Linked DNA regions of Homo sapiens: regions 1 and 3 are each linked to region 2. The links are contacts of gene promoters, found by promoter capture Hi-C in blood cells and fetal thymus (Javierre and others, 2016). All regions are on one chromosome and are shown on one strand. The core of a region is centred on a gene start or on the middle of the fragment in contact, and the rest is flanking DNA. Distances in the headings are between cores, read along the strand shown.

What was found. The method cuts DNA at HindIII sites, captures the fragments that hold promoters and counts their contacts. A CHiCAGO score of 5 or more calls a contact.
Region 1: a contact is called between the fragment with the promoter of TIMM9 here and the fragment with the promoter of FKBP3 in region 2, in 2 of 17 cell types (naive CD8 T cells and total CD4 T cells). The highest score is 7.6, in naive CD8 T cells.
Region 3: a contact is called between a fragment that was not itself captured here and the fragment with the promoter of FKBP3 in region 2, in 1 of 17 cell types (total B cells). The highest score is 10.1, in total B cells.

The regions. Positions count from the first base shown.
Region 1 is chr14:58,425,323-58,428,995 of GRCh38, forward strand. TIMM9 (translocase of inner mitochondrial membrane 9) reads right to left here and starts at 2,209. Exons shown (of 6, transcript NM_012460.4): 1 at 2,070-2,209; 2 at 1,732-1,920. It overlaps KIAA0586, which reads left to right and starts at 2,397. Exons shown (of 31, transcript NM_001329943.3): 1 at 2,397-3,141. The coding sequence starts at 2,943. RefSeq lists enhancers at 401-1,344, 2,359-2,408, 2,479-2,668. The HindIII fragment of the contact is 11,466 bases long and covers 1-3,673 here.
Region 2 is chr14:45,133,165-45,136,429 of GRCh38, forward strand. FKBP3 (FKBP prolyl isomerase 3) reads right to left here and starts at 1,317. Exons shown (of 7, transcript NM_002013.4): 1 at 1,185-1,317. The coding sequence starts at 1,292. It overlaps FANCM (FA complementation group M), which reads left to right and starts at 2,766. Exons shown (of 23, transcript NM_020937.4): 1 at 2,766-3,265. The coding sequence starts at 2,868. RefSeq lists enhancers at 515-1,386, 1,074-1,293, 1,387-2,257, 2,920-2,969 and a silencer at 1,263-1,440. The HindIII fragment of the contact is 3,907 bases long and covers 8-3,265 here.
Region 3 is chr14:58,305,329-58,309,068 of GRCh38, forward strand. ARID4A (AT-rich interaction domain 4A) reads left to right here. Exons shown (of 24, transcript NM_002892.4): 5 at 694-784. Among named protein-coding and RNA genes, the nearest start is that of ARID4A, 8.6 kb to the left of the region's middle. The HindIII fragment of the contact is 534 bases long and covers 1,630-2,163 here.

The DNA.
Region 1 (3,673 bases), core at 959-3,458, about 13 Mb after region 2:
ATCACTTGAACCCAGGAGGCAGAGGTTGCAGTGAGCTGAGAAAATAAGCCTGGGCAATAAGGCGAGACCTAGTTTCTACAAAAAAGTAAAAAATTAGCCAGCGTGGTGGCAAGTGCTTGTAGTCCTAGCTACTCAGGAGGCTGAGACAGGAGGATTGCCTGAGCTCAGGAGTTGAAGGCTTCAGGGAGCTATGATCATGACAGAGCAAGGCCCTGTCTCTGGAAAAAAAAAAAAAAAGAGGGAAAGGAACTAAAGAGTAATGACAAAGAGCTGTAAGATCCAAATTAAGTTGTCATTTTAATAATTCAGAGTGCCTACACTCAGATCTTAGGTCACTGTTTCTTTCACATAAGTTTCACCTAGAAGGTAAGAGTTAAACTATCTCCAAGGTCTCTGGCGACTCTGACATTGTAGTTCTTTCAGTACACTCATAATATACAATAAATTGTGAACAAACAAGTACCACCTATGAGCCCAATTACGAAGAGAAAATGTAACTAAAATAAAAAATAATGGCCACGTGCGGTGGCTCACGCTTGTAATACTAGCACTTTGGTAGGCCGAGGCGGGTGAATCAAGTCAGGAGTTCGAGACCAACCTGGCCAACATGGTGAAACCCCGTCTCTAATAAAAATACAAAAAAAATTAGCTGGGCGTGGTGGCGGGCGCCTGTAATCCAGCTACTCAGGAGGCCTGAGGCAGAAGAATCGCTTGAACCTGGGAGGCGGAGGTTGCAGTGAGCCAAGATCGCGCCACTGCACTCCAGCCTGTGCCACAGAGTGAGACTTTGTCTCAAAAAACAACACAAAACTCATTAGAGAAACTCAGCAAGTTACAAAAAAATAATAATTAAAAGGGTCTTTAACGCTGAGCCCTTAAAGTCTTTTTTTTTCTTTTTTTTTTAAGACAGTCTTGATCTGTCACTCAGGCTGGAGCACAATGGCGCGATCTCAGCTCACTGCAACCTCCACCTGCCGGGTTCAAGCAATTCTCTTGCCTCAGCCTCCTGAGTAGCTGGGACTACAGGCGCGCGCCACCATGCCCAGTTAATTTTTTGTATTTTCAGTAGAGGCGGGGTTTCACCTTGCTGGCCAGGCTGGTCTCGAACTCCTGATCTCGTGATCCGCCCGCCTTGGCCTCCCAAAGTGCTGGGATTACAGGCGTGAGCCACCGCGCTCAGACTTTAAAGTCCATTTTAAGTCTAGACTTCTATGAAGGTAGACTGCCGAGATGTAAAAGAAATAAAATTAGTTATTTAGCTTTTAGATCGGATTACATTTTCTGCTTTGATTATTCTAAAGCCTCCAGTAAGGCGTAAAGGGAAAGCTCTAAGTAGCGCATCCTGGGAAATGAGCAGATCAGGGAAGGGGTGTTAGACCTGGTATTATGTCTAAAGACGATTTTCATTTAAAGGAGGATCTTCCCCCGGGCAGCTCAAGGTCACATCGTAAATACCTTATAGTCTAATTCAGTGTCCCAAAACAGGACCCCGACTCCCCAGATCCGGGTTGGGGGTGGCTCAGGGCCTAAAGTTCCTACCCTCGCCCAGGTGACACCATCTCCAGGAAGGTCTGCACCCGACCCGGCGAAGCGCTGTCCCGCTTCGCACCCCCCACTGCTCCAGGTACGTGCGGCGGCCTCCTCGGGAGACCCCGCCACTTTCCTGGAGCGTAGCCTGCCACCCCCCGTCCGGGAACCCCGGATTCTCACGGCAGAGAACAGACACCATACTTAAGCACAGGCTCTCGCATCCGACATCAGTACAAGGCTGGGGGTTGTTGGGGGACGGTTGAGCCTTGGGAGGGAGGGTCAGGGTCTGGACAGGAGCCGCGGCCGCCAGATGGGAAAGAACACGTGGGAGCAGTAATGTCAAGTGACACTTAAACCCTTAGACGCCGATTCGTTATAACGCGAGGAAATCTAGAAGAAAAAGCAGGTACCATCAGCGAATTCTAAAATCTCCTAAGGATTAACTTCGGTTATTTTCTGCTTAGACAACGCTTTCTATTCCCGACTTCCTCTCCAATAATGACCCGAATCTGTCGAAACTTCTTGGAAGCCTAATTTACCTAATCCCACGTCCCTAACGGTCTTCGGAAGCGAAGCAGTGTCAACAGTCCCTGGTAAACACAAGTAGTATTACAAGTCGGGAGCTCTTCAAGTCTTGGATGAGACTGTAGAGCGGTCTTGTGCGGCAATGTGCTACCTTAAAATAAATAAATAAATAAACCCCTGTTATGTCCGGAGTTTGTTTCCACCCGGAGAGGAATGGAAGAGCACCAGAGAGCGCTTAGCTTTCTGGTTGGATGTTTTGGGTGAGTTTCTTGGCGCGCATGCGTGTTGTGTCTCAAGGGCGGGTTTGAAGGGAAGTGGGTGTTGACCTGCGGGCAACTGACGCTGTTGTCAGATTACACCCACGACGGTGCGGGTCTCGGGCGTTCTGGAGATACGTAGGGGTGAATTTATGTTTCCGACGATTGCATCTGGAGGGGTGTGTAAGACTCTGTGGCTGAAGAAAGCTATTACGCTTCTTATGTGGGTCATTATTTTAAAAATAGCATTTCGCTTTTATTTGCTTGACTGCCTCTTCTCAACAAATTTTAAGCCCGCCACTACATGTGTTTGGTTTTGCCCTACCAGCTCTGGGGTTGGGGAGTGCACTGTTATGGTTATTGTTGCTCCTGTGGCCATTCTCTTGTCATCCCCACTTTCACATTTTGGCGTGGTGTATTAATAGACTGAGTGGGATTAATGGGTAAATATGACTTTATAGTCAGCTCTAATCCTGGATTCAATATCAGAATTTAGATTTTCAGCTTTGTGGATGTTCGACATTTTAAAAACAGTTATTGCAAAGAGGTGAAAATTTTGTTCTGAAGTCTTAAGGAAACAGAGAAAGTTTTTCCGTCCTTAAGTGTGGGACTTGTTTTGTGACCAACAATATGAAAGGCTCTGAGGTCAGCTTGGAGAAGAAAAAAAAGATTAAGATGCCAGTGAAGAGACTTCGTGAGGTAGTTTCTCAAAATCATGGAGATCATTTGGTTTTGCTGAAAGATGAGTTGCCCTGTGTTCCTCCGGCATTGTCTGCAAATAAACGTCTTCCTGTTGGAACGGGGACTAGTTTGAATGGAACATCACGTGGTATGTGATTCCATGTAGTTTTTCAACCAGTTTTAGTTTAGTAAATCTTTAGTCCTTATTTGTTTAAATTCCCAAACGTAAGATATAAGTCTAGTTTGTACAGATGTTTGAAAACTGACCCTGTTTCCCGGGAAAATGGCCAGGAAGCCTATAAAATGTTTGAATAGATGGAATGAATGAAACTTTAACGTCCCCTGTTGTGCTTTTTTTTTTTTTTTTTGCATTGACTTTTGCATATTTTTTTTTTTATATTTATGGTGGATACACTTAACTTGTATAATGTGCTTTATTTTCCCCCACGTAGTGTTTTTTATAGTTTTCCCCCAAAGTAGTGCTTTTTACCTAATTCACTACTTTCTTTTCATAGTGGGAAAAGCAGGACTTCTGCCAATTGATGGCTTCTATATTCCAATTCACTTAATCTGTCTAGAGCTCAGTGAAAATAAGGATAACATATGCTTTACCCACTTCGCTGCTAATTGTGAGGATTAAATTAATGAATATGTGAGCAAAAACAGCAAAACGCTTTTGT
Region 2 (3,265 bases), core at 67-2,566:
AAATATAAGCTTCTCAAAATAACCCAGAAATAGTGGCTCACGCCTGTAATCCCAGCACTTTGGGAGGCCGAGGCGGGCGGATCACGAGGTCAGGAGATCGAGACCATCCTGACTAACACGGTGAAATCCCGTCTCTATTAAAAATACAAAAAATTAACCTGGCGTGGTGGCACGCGCCTGTAGTCCTAGCTACTCGAGAGGCAGAGGCAGGAGAATCGTTTGAACCCGGGAGGCGGAGGTTGCAGTGAGCCGAGATCGCGCCACTGCACTCCAGCCTGGGCAACAGAGAGAGACTCCGTCTCAAACAAACAAACAAAAAAACCCAGAAACAGTTTTTCTAAATGAAAAGTTTAGAATTTTAAAAATTGTATAGAAAACACAAGCAGGCTGCCGCTTGTAAGAGAATGCTGCGTGCACAACTATTTCAGCAATTTAACAGGTGCATGAATGAACTTATTTTCCAAAGGAAAAACAAGTGTAACAAAAATAACTTGACTATAGACGGATGGTTAAGATGGAGACTATGCTGACAAATGGAGAGCCTACAGTATAAAGCATTTCAAATAAATTTCTTAGTCTGTTTATAACAATGACAGACCACTGCACAAGAGAAATGTGCATGTAGCTCCCTTAAAGTATAAAGGTGAAAAGGTCATTTAAAGGGTCGATATGTTAAATCAAAACTTAAACCACAACCTACGGATTTTTTAAAAATCACACGCATTAATGTTCAGTATTTAGTAAACTGTTGAGAAAAGCAAGTTGGATACACCGTTCCCACAGAAATCTTCACATCCCTTCCCATTTCCCTAGTAGCCGGCGCCCCGCTCCCAGGAGTCTCATCCACACCACTATTCCTCGGCCTCTCCGCCCTAGCCCCCAATATCCTCGGGTTCCTATTTTTCTGGCCTCCACCCCCACTCAAGGATCCCAATGAGGTTCTAACTCTACAATTGCAGCCTGTGTGCCCCAAGAAATAAAGCTGCTCCCCTGCCCCAGTAGAGAACGCCCGAGAGGCGGGAGCGAGGCACCAAAGCACAAGCTGGGCCTCTCCGGCCTTCCAGGCCACCGGCCGCGGGAAGACGAGGGCGGGGGCACAGAGGAATACGGAATGTATGGGCATCTCCAGGGGGGTGAGGCGTCCCTCAGCCGCACCAGCCCGGCCGCCCCTACGCCTCTGGTACCGAATCTGAACCGTGTTCCTGCAGAAACTTGATAATGTCCTTCTTGGGCAGCTGCTCACTGCGCAGCTGCTCCACGGTCCACGCCCGCTGTGGAACGGCCGCCGCCATCTTCCCCCGCTGCCTCCGCTTTACTGAGCCAGCCCGCCGCAGTTCGGCATCGCCCCGCCCCCTAGGGCGGGGCGGGGCCACTCACGGAGGTCGAGGGGCGGGCCTCTGCTCTAGCAGTCGGGATTGGGGCCTGTCTTTGAGTGACGTCAAGGCTGTGCTATGAGGGCTTCTTTGTTGAGTCCGGGTTGAAAAACCTACCGCGGTCGTCTCTGCAGTCGACTGAGTAGAAGACCGCTAGAGATCTTCGATTCTGAATTAGACACCTTGTGAAGCGACCTCTGATGGTAGCGACATTTATCAACCATTACCCACATTTAAGGCAGCTATGCCTTTAAAGTCCAGTCTATAACCTGTTAAAAGAAAACAGCATTCAGGCTCCTTATCTCGTTTTATCTAGTTCTAGCCTAAAAAGTCACACCTGAAGTGCTTCAGTCCTTGTCGATCCGAAAACCCATATCCCACCATTTCCCTTTTAAAGATCACACAACCGAAACTTAAATACAAACTGCCCATCCCCTTCCCCCCATACAAATACGAGAAAGTTTGTCCAAAACGAAGTTCAGAAACTTTAACAAATAAAACAATTTATAAAGAAGCCGCACTCAGGATGCCACTTGCTGATGAGAATGACATTATTAATGCTCGTAACTCTGTGATGTATATTTTTTTCTCAGTACACGAGGAAACAAATTTACAGAGGTTACTCAAAGTCAGGTTTAGAGAGAAGTCAGGAATTATTTGAGACAGAAATCTTCGTTAGAGTGGAATAATTGCACACCGACGTTTATTATAATGCTCTTACCTATAATAAAGATTTAATAGTTGAACATCAGGACTCCTTACTTAAAAAAATGTAGGCTGACTCTGGGCATGTTGCCTATGAGTTAGCTCTGCTTTGCAAGGAGCATTAAAAAAAAAAATTCTGACGAATAGCTGGACCAGACCACGTTCACTTCCCTTTAAACAATGAAAATATTAAAATAATGGGTTGCCACTCCCAGCGCGGTGAAAAAGAGACTTGGCATTTTGTTTTCTCAGCCCAGATAGAGATATAAGACAAATTATTCCATCTACACATTTTTGCTTTTCACTTTATATTCTGATTTAAAAGTACAAGGAATGAGGCACGTTAGACGCTCAATAACATTAAGTTCCCAAACTGGTGGCTATTCCATTGTCCCCGGGTATGTAATATTTTACAATAAATCTCTATTATAACATTTTAAGTGATTTATCACGTTAGCAATGACGCCCAGCCATCTAATCATTGGAAACGGAACTTAAATTTAGAGTTTGTTAAAACAAAACACCGGAACCGCACCGGGGACCATATTTAGAGTAACGCCTTAATAATGCGCATGAGTCTCCGGCAGGGCTGTGAAGGTTTCCGGGAAGCCAGCCAATCATTCCCAACGGAAACTCAGTAGCGGCATTTTCAACTGGATAAACTGGCCTTAGTCCCGCCTTCTCGTTCCAGAGTTTTGTGCGAAGGAAACCGATGGGGATCGGAACCGTAGCGGTTGAGCTGCTGCTGCTACGGATATCTGACAGAAGCCTTCGGTGGTTGTCGGCCTAATGAGCGGACGGCAAAGAACGCTTTTTCAGACGTGGGGCTCAAGTATCTCCCGATCATCTGGGACTCCGGGTTGCAGCTCCGGAACTGAGCGACCTCAGAGCCCTGGCAGCTCCAAGGCGCCTTTGCCAGCAGCAGCGGAGGCTCAGCTGGAGTCGGACGATGATGTGTTGCTTGTCGCGGCGTACGAGGCTGAGCGGCAGTTGTGTCTAGAGAATGGCGGGTTCTGCACCTCCGCGGGCGCCCTGTGGATTTACCCTACCAATTGCCCAGTGCGGGACTACCAGCTGCACATTTCCCGGGCTGCTCTGTTTTGCAATACGCTGGTGTGTCTGCCTACCGGACTGGGAAAGACCTTTATTGCCGCCGTGGTCATGTACAATTTCTACCGCTGGTTCCC
Region 3 (3,740 bases), core at 647-3,146, about 13 Mb after region 2:
CCTTCTAAGTTGAGTATCATAACCATCAATCTTTGGTTGTTCTAATTTACCAAGTAAACTATGTTCACTTCCTAATTCAATTTAATGAATACCTAGATTATGTTTTCCATGCATTTCTGGCCATTTGTTTATGTAATAAATCTGTTATATCAGAGTACCACTTTGGTTAATATCTGATATACAAAGGTCTGGAAACTGAAAGAAGGTCAACTGGTCCATCCCTATCTCTCCAGGTGAACCTTTATCTAAAAGGTACCTTAAATACAAATGCTGAATCCAATATTCACTATTTCTGTGAAAGAAAATGGATGCTATTTTGGTTGTCTTATAATTTTACAGTTCTTCGATTTAATTTTCTTGAAGGCAATGTGATATAGTGGAAAAGCTCTAAAGTAAGATTTAAGAGACTGGGCTGTCATGCTGGACTCTGCATATTATTTTCTCTTTCTGAACGGCAATTTTCAGTGTGTAAAGTAGGGGTAATAATAGCTACCTAACTTTTGTCAAAGTGTTTTGGAGCTCAAATTGCATAATAAATAGATAAGTACTATGAATGATAAAGATCTCAGACAGTGTAAGATAGAATTATCATAAGTATGGTGTTTATTTTTCTTAGCTAGATTATATAGTTGGTGGGAGTGATTTGGTTTATTTGTTTAAATTTGGTAAGGAAATTGGGATTTCACATTTTAGGTTGGAGCTATTGTTGAAACAAGGACATCTGATGGATCTTTTCAGGAAGCTATTATCAGCAAGTTGACAGATGCTAGTTGGTATACCGTGGGTAAGTAATTAAGTAATTTAACACAGATTTGATTTGGAGGTTGCATGTATCTGTGTTTTGTGGATACACTGAATCATTGTGTTGGTGGAGAAATATATATTATTTCCTGTCAGTTTACTGGATATAGCTGACTAAAATTCTAAGAATGCCCTGTAGGTAACAAAAATAATTATCTCTTACAGTAAGTTGGCCACTTTTGTCTATTTCATCCAAAAATGTACTTCTATTTTAGGTTACTTTGATGTTTCTTTTCAAGAAAGTTAGATCACATGATTGTGATCACTTTTTCTATAATTACAATTAAAATTGCATAGTTGCGATCGTTACTGTATTGCTACATATTTTATACAAGGGTAATGTAGATGTTGCCAGACAATTTACAGATTTAAAAAATCCTGACCATGGTAGATTCAAGAATAGGTGATTGTTAACTTAGTTTTTGATTTTTGATACAGTGTGGGTGCTCATATTAACAGCTTTCAAGGTCGGGCATGTTGGCTCATGCCTGTAATCCTAGCATTTTGGAAAGCTGAGGCGGGTGGATCACTTGAGGTCAGAAGTTCGAGACCAGCCTGGCCAACATGGTGAAACCCCGTCTCTACTGAAAATACACAAATTAGCCTGGTATTAGTGGTGCATGCCTGTAATCCCAGCTACTCTGGAGGCTGAGGCAGGAGAATCGCTTGAACCTGGGAGGCGGAGGTTGCAATGAGCCCAGATCATGCCACTGCACTCCAGCCTGGGCGACAGAGTGAGATTTGGTCTCAAAAAGAAAACAGCTTTTAAGAAAAATATAGATGCTCCTAATATGAATGCATGAATGCATTCTTAACATTCCATGCATAAGCTTATACTGGCTTTAGATAACTTTATTGTATTAATAGTGAGAAGCAACAAGTGTCATAATACTTGTAAGTTAAAACCTTAAAGTAGTACTTAAATAGTTGCTGTCATTATGTTGATGAGAATAGCATTAAGTAACATTTCCAAATCTCCTCTCAGTACTTTCAAACTGCACAATCCTGTGGATAACATCCAATCTATAGCATTGTTGGTTTTTATACTTATTTCTTGGTTTAAGTGGTATAATTATTTTGTGGTTTTCTTGTAGAAATAAAAGAATGACCATTTAGGTTTACTTTTAGTTTACTTGATTTGTTGCTTTGGGTAAAAATCATTCACATCCAGTTGATGCTCAGTGTTGTGAAGAACTATGCTTTGGTTAAAAATTTCTCTGTCTTACCCTGTACCTTCTATTAGTAGTACCAATTTGCTGTGTGTAAGTACTTTTTTCAAACCTCTTTGATGCTTCTTGGACTTACTAGAATTTAGTGTTGGTTCACAGTGGTGCTATTATTCTGAACTACATATTTTTAGGAAGCTTAGTTGTGGCTACTGATAGTTGTTAAATTTTAAAAACTAAGTGGCCAGATGCAGTGGCTCTAACCTGTAATCCCAGCACTTTAGGGGGGCGAGGTGGGCGGATCACCTGAGGTCAAGAGTTCAAGACCAGCCTGGCCAACATGGCGAAACCTTGTCTCTACTAAAAATACAAAAATTAGCTGGGTGTGGTGGTGGGCGTCTGTAATCCCAGCTACTCAGTAGGCTGAGGCAGGAGAATCGCTTGAATCTGGGAGGCGGAGGTTGCAGTAAGCCTAGATTGTGCCATTGCACTCCAGCCTGGGCAACAAGAGCAAAACTGCGTCTCAAAACAAATAAAAACTAAGCTTAATGTTAACTCTTAGAGATTAAGTAAATACATCTTTGCTTTATCAAACTAAGACCTGATAAAAATTACAGGTGTGTGTAGAATCACCGGAAAATATATGATGCATATTCAGATATTTATATTGCACCTTATATTTTAACTCACTATAAAGGTTGTACTCACTTTGAAGCTTTACTGATAAAATGCGCATGCTCTATAGAAGGATTACTTTTCAGGTTTTCTCATTTTGGGTTTCTTTATCCCAGAGTAGTTATTCAATTATGAATAGCAACCTTTGTCCTCTACATGAGTAGCGTTTTAGTGTTTCTAAAAACTAGTCACTGCTAAGCATTCTCTATGGTGATTTTCTGTGTTGGATAATTACAGAAGAAATTGTATAATTCTTGTTCTCAAAGAGCTTTAGAATCTTAATTGCATATAATTGAGGTATCAAGCATTAGTGGACATAAGAATCACTTGGTGCTTGCTTAGAAAAATGAGGATTTGAGGACCCCAAGCCTCTCCAATTAGTAGGCCTGGGGATGGCAGTACAAGAATGTTTTAATAAGCATGTCAGTGATTCTGATGCAGGTAGTTCACACTTATAAAAACAGGGAAAAACAGATTTATTTGGGAGAAAAATTCAAAATATTAAAGATTTTTGCACTTACGTGCATGAAGGAAATTCATAAAAAGATTTTGAAAGGCACTGTTCCATTCAGAAAACTCAAGATAGCACTGCTCTAAAGAACGTTTAGATATTGAAGGAAGTGGATCACATAAAGAATGATCAGAGTATAATGACCTGAGTTACCAGTTGGTTTAAAAAAAACAGTACAATGAAATGTAAAACCTCTTGGGTCATGAACATCCTGTATTTTTCTTTCAGTGAGTACCTACTACCTACCTATTAGGTGTAATTGCTCTTTTCTGGAATTTTTTTTGATTTCTAGTTCCTAGCAAAGTATTACATGGGTATAGTCAGAAAATTATTCAGAGTGTTTATGACGTGTGTTACCTTTTTTGGTTTCATGAGATACCAGAAATTATGTCAGATTATTAAAAATAAAACAAGAGGATACCACATTGCTGGTTTGGATCAAATAGGAGTTATGATCATTAGTGATCTAAAGTTATCATTAGAGTCAGTGATATTAACTTCTTCTTGCATAATACAGGTATCAATTTCCCTTCTGTTAAACATGATTAACCAATTTTGAAAGAGATTATGGATATAGTATGACTCAG